2 separate regions of the Homo sapiens genome follow, and region 2 is linked to region 1. Evidence: promoter capture Hi-C in 16 types of primary human blood cells and fetal thymus (Javierre and others, 2016). All regions are on one chromosome and are shown on one strand. Each heading gives the region's core, a stretch centred on a gene start or on the middle of the fragment in contact. The rest is flanking DNA. Distances are from core to core; before and after follow the strand shown.

Region 1 (2,795 bases), core at 110-2,609:
TTTAAAACAAAAATTTCAATGTGGGTTTTCAAACCTGATCAGTGTTGAAGCTGGATGTAGGCCAGATATCTTACCTTAAAATCTTTTTTTCTTTTTCTTGAGACAGGGTCTCACTCTGTTGCCCACGCTGGAACGCAGTGGTGTGATCATAGCTCACTGCCTCCTGGCCTCAAGCAATCCTCCCTGCTTGGCCTCCCAAAGTGCTGGGATAACAGGTGTGAGCCACTGTGCCTTGCCCCATGCCTTAAAAACTTTTAAGAGTGGGATAAATGGACCATATATCTTTACTGCTAAAATGACTTAAAATTCCTGCACAATTCATGTAGCATTTCGGGAGTAGCAACATCCCCATGTACGTTTTTACCTAGGCAGTTCATCAGTAAAGGTATTTGTCAAGTGGCTTTCTTGTAGCCGGGAAGAAAGTGCATGTTAAAAACAACAACACCGGGCTGGTTTTTACTTTGTAAGTTTGAGCAAAGTGGTAGCTATACCAAACCTGGGAGTGGCTGAATGTCTTTCTATTTAGCAGTGAAAGATGATAGGAAACCAGCCAGATGGTCCTGATTTTAGGGTGAGATAGAGAGGTAAGCTCCAGATCTCATATAGGTTGCCTTTATTTCTGAGCTGTTTCTCACAGGACGGTGAGCTAAACGCTGGGTGCTTTTCCATGCAGAGATTCCTGTTTGGGGCTGGGATCAGCCATCCTACTTCACAAACAAGGAATATGCGGAAGAAGGAGTATACACAACGCTAACAACCCCAATATCAATGGAAACCCCACTTCCCACACTTTTCCTTTGGGACATCTCCCCCACCCCCCACTCCTCCCGCGTTACACGTTGCCAGGCTGCTTTGGGCGTTCCTTCCTCTGTAGTGCATTGCACGGGTACGTCATCAAATGTGCGTGTACACGTGCCAGATTCGCCTTTAAACGGTAATCTCCCCTAGGTCCAGATCGTGTACTTTCCCGTATGTAACGGTAGTGCAGTACCTGAACTATTAGTTATTTAAGTAATACGTAATGAATGAAGAGCTGAAACTGCAACCTGTTGATGGAAGAATGAATGAACGCGCTCCCCTCCTTCCTGCGGGGCTGCGCCGAGAAAATACGGTTCTGATTTAGCCACGACGTTAAAGGCTTTGACCTGTAGGGGGAGGGGAAAGAAAAGACGGGAAAAAGAAAACCAAAAAACAAAAAACCGGAAAAAGGGAAAAAGCGAAAAGGGGGAGGTCGCTCGGCCGCTCGCAGGCTCAGCCCGGTGGCCCCGCCCCGCGGCGGCCGGTGGCTGTGCGCGTGCGCAGGCGGGAGCGCGGCGGCTGGTCCAAGCCCGGCGCTGGGGGCGCGCAGCCGAGAAAGGGTTTGACGTGGCAGTTCCCAGCCCAGCTGCAACTCCGAGCGTGAGTCCAGGCTAAGGGGACGCCGGCCGGGGAAGAGGCGCGGCGGGAGAAGCGACCGCAGCGGGAGCCCGGCCACCGAGGGCTGCCGGCACTAGGCGCAGAGCCGCCAGCGCTCGGAAGCCCGCGGGGTGCGGGAGCGGGAACAGGTAAAGCCTCCCACCCGCGGACGCCTTCATGCGGGACAGCCCTGCCCAGGCACAGCGGAGCGGGTTGCGGCGCCCGGCCCGGGGACGCGGCGGGAGGCCGGGTGCTCACCTGAGGCAGTGGCGGCGGGAGGAGAACTCATTCTTTGTTCTTTAGCCTTCTAGTGCAGTTTAATAGTGGGGCCGGCGGGATGGGGGAGCAGGAGGTGGGCGTGGGCATTTTTTACCCGCCCCCACCTTTTGCCTTGGGATGCAGGAACTGCCTTGTTAGGATCCTCAGTGGCCACCATTCGAGTGTCATTGCCAGCGGTTTTCTCATCTCCTTATCAACTTAATTTCCTTTTTTGAAGGAAGGAAATGTTAGAAATATTCATGGTAAAAATGGCAACTATATCTTGAAGCCTCGGGACATCCGAATAGTGAAACTGATCTGGCCAAATACGAACTTGTTCCAGGGTTAGAAGTGCACCTTGGCTAGAGTTGCTGGGTGACAGTGAGCCAGGGGGCCGTTCTGGGGTTGGGGCTCCCCAGATTTTGATCCTAGGCCTGCTTATACCAAGTGGCTTTCTGCCGTGTCGCCGCTTGAAGCTGAGTCAGGTTTCTTTAACTTGGTGCTCTGTGTGAGGAAGTTTGACGTGGCAAACTGGGTTGCGTGAGGAAGCTGATTCCTCTGAGGACCAGTTCAGAGGGAACTGGCTGCTTCCTGTTCTTTGGAGTGACCATCTCAGCCTCTCTTTTCTGTCACTCAGCAACAGGCTGCTACTTAGGTGTGTTCGTGCCGACTTCCTAAGTGCTCTTGGTTGGATGAGCTTGACCAGCGCTCAGGCTGCCACGTCTCTCTCTGCTAAGTGGGAGGAGGAAAAAGGGGTTGTCAGAAACAAAGTGGACCAGAAGGCCTTTGCCTGCCTCTCTCCTCTTTTTCAGTTCTCCCCTTCCCAGGAGAAGGAAATGATCTCATAATATTTTTACATGGTTGCTTTTATTTTGGAAACTTATAGTTTAATATGGAAACAAAATCAAATCACAAATTTTAGGCTTCAAATTTTTAATTTGAAATGTTATTTCTTGAATATAGACAGATTCTAAGTCTTAGCAGGTATCACTGATCTCTTATCTTAAATTGTAGCAAATAAAAGAACAAAAGGAAGAATATGCTTGTATGGGGCAAATAAACTGGAGATAAATTGTAGAATCAGTGGAAATCTGGAAAGGCTTCATTTTCTAAAAGAAGGAACTGAGGCTTAGAGAGGTTCT
Region 2 (2,795 bases), core at 149-2,648, 1.2 Mb before region 1:
TGTGATGTGCTTAAATGTTGGTATTACTGGCATAGCATCACCTTGTACTATCTCTTCTATGTGATTTTTAGGGTGAAAATTCAGTTTAAAGAAATAAATGAGAGACTGCTATGGACTGAATTGTGTCCCCCTAAATTCATATATTGACGCCCTCACCTCTCTCTCTCCCTGCCATGTAAAAATATAGTTAAAAAGTGGCTGTCTACAAGCCAGAAAGAGAGCCCCTACCAGAAACTGAAAATGCCAGCACCTTGATCTTGGACTTTAAACCTCCTGTGAGAAATAATTTTTTTCTGTGAGAAATAAACTTTTGTTGTTTAAGTAACCCAGTCTATGGGATTTGGTTATGGTGGCTTGAGCTGACTGAGACACAGACTCTGTCACTGTTATTCTATTAAGAGCTCATCTATCAAATTAAAATAAATAACAAGAATAATTTTTATTGGCTTTTTTCTCATTTTTTTCTAGTTTTTTAAATTGTTTTTTACATAACATAAATTTGCCATCATATTATTTTAAGTGTACAATCAGTAGTATTAAATACATTCATAATGTTGGGCAACCATCACCACCATCCATCTCCATAACCTTTTTCATCTTGTAAAATGGAAATGCTATTACCATTAAACAATAACCCCTCATTCTCCCCTCCCTCCAGCCCCTGGTAACCACCATGCTTCTTTTTGTAATCATAATTTTGTCTGATAGATATAGCTGATTCATGTGTTGTTTAAGTTCACTATTTCCTACCTATTTTTTGTCTGGTTGTCCTATTCATTATTGACAGTGGGATATTAAAATCTCCAACTATTATTGTAGAACTGATTATTTATCCATGCAATTTTCAGTTTTTGCTTTATGTATTTTAATTGACTGTTTTTAGATGCATGCATGTTTATACTTGTTATAACTTCTGCTGGGTTGAACCCTCTAAGTGTGCAATGTCCTTCTTTGTCTCCTCCTTTGTCTCTTGTTCTTGTCTTTTCTGATTTAAAGCTTTTTTAAAAAAATATTTGTATAGCCATCTCTTCTCGCTTCTGGTTACTGTTTGCATGGAACATCTTTTTTTCATTCTTTCACATTCCATCTATTTGTGCCTTTGGATCTAAAGTGAATCTCAATGTCAGGCGCAGTAGTATATGCCTGTAGTGATAGCAACCCGGGAGGCTGAAGCAGGAGGACCATTTGAGCCCAGGAGTTCGAGTCCAGCCTGGGCAACATAGTGAGATCCCATATCTCATAAAAAATTTCAAAATTAAAAAAAAATAAAGTGAGCCTCCTGCACGTAACATATATTTGGATTATGGTTTTTAATCCATTTGGCCAATCCTTTAATTGGAGTGTTTAATGCATTTACATTTAAAGTAATTACTAACAACAAAGGGACTTCTAACAGTTTGCTACTTGTTTTCTATATGGTTTGTAGTTTTTTGTCAATAATTTTCTGCATTACTGTCTTCTTTTGTGTTCACTTGATATTTTATATTAAAACGTTTACATTTCTTTCTCATTTCCATTTTTACATATTTTATAGCGATTTTTCTTTGTGGCTACCATGGGGATTACATCTGACATCCTAAAGTTATGCCAATCTAATTGGAATTTTTACCAGCTTCACCTCAATAACATCCACCTCTGTGCTCCCTTACAGGTTCGTCCCTACTCCTTTTGGTTGATGTCTTAAAATCATATTTGTATACACTGTGTGCCCCAAAACATAAACTAATACAGGCATACCTTGTTTTGTTGTGCGTTTTATCACACACACAGATACTGCATTTTTCACAAATCAAAGCTTTGTGGGAACCCTGCATAGAGCAAATCTATCAGTGTTTTTTTTACTAACGACACACAGTCACTTTGTGTCTCTGTCACATTTTGGCAATTCTCACAATATTTCACACTTCTTCATTATGATGATATTCATTTTTGTGATCAGTGATCTCTGATGTTACTATTGTGATTATTTTGGTGTCCTGTGAACTTAAGATGAACTTAATCACCTCTAAGTGTTCAAGTGAAAGTGTTGCATGTCTTTCACTTTAAATCAAAAGGTACAAATGATTAAGTTTAGTGAGGAAAGCATGTCAAAAGCCAGGAAGACTGAAGAGTCTTGCAACAGTTAGCCAAGTTGTGAATGCGGAGTAAAGATTCTTAAAGGACAGTAAAAGTGCTAATCTAGTGAACACATGAATGATAAGAAAGCGAAACAGCCTTATTCCAATATGGAGAAAGTTCTAGTGGTCTGGATGGAAGATCAAACCAGCCACAGCATTCCCTTAAGCCAAAGCCTATTCCAGAGCAAGGCCTAACTCTCTTCAATTCTCTTAAACCTGAGAGAGGTGAAGAAGCTGAAGAAAAGAAGTTGGAAGCTAGCAGAGGTTGGTTGATGAGGTTAAAGTGAAGAAGCATCTCCATAACATGAAAGGGCAACATGAAGCAGCAAATGCTGGTGTAAATAAAAGCTGCATCAAGTGATCCTGAAGATCTAAATGAGATCACTGAAGATGGTGGCCACACTAAACAACAAATTCTTCAATGTAGATCAAACAGCCTTTATATTGTAAGAACATGCCATCTAGGACTTTCATAGCTAGAGAGTAGAAGTCAATGCCTGGCTTCCAATCTTCACAGGACAAGCTGACTTTCTTGTTAGGGTTTGATGCAGCTGGTGGCTTTAAGTTGAAGCCAATGCTCATTTACCATTCAGAACATCCTAGGGCCCTCAAGAATGATGCCAAATCTACTCTGCGCACTAGAAATGGAACAACAAAGTCTGAATGTCAGCACATCTG

The links. Contacts are between HindIII fragments. The CHiCAGO score rates a contact against its expected background, and 5 or more counts as called.
Region 2: a contact is called between a fragment that was not itself captured here and the fragment with the promoter of SEC24D in region 1, in 5 of 17 cell types (neutrophils, activated CD4 T cells, naive B cells and 2 more). The highest score is 8.9, in neutrophils.

Annotation. Positions count from the first base shown.
Region 1 is chr4:118,834,690-118,837,484 of GRCh38, reverse strand. SEC24D (SEC24 homolog D, COPII component) reads left to right here and starts at 1,359. Exons shown (of 23, transcript NM_014822.4): 1 at 1,359-1,544. RefSeq lists enhancers at 1,197-1,491, 1,112-2,003 and a silencer at 1,196-1,685. The HindIII fragment of the contact is 6,235 bases long and covers 1-2,795 here.
Region 2 is chr4:120,045,977-120,048,771 of GRCh38, reverse strand. No RefSeq gene overlaps it. Among named protein-coding and RNA genes, the nearest start is that of MAD2L1, 19 kb to the left of the region's middle. The HindIII fragment of the contact is 799 bases long and covers 999-1,797 here.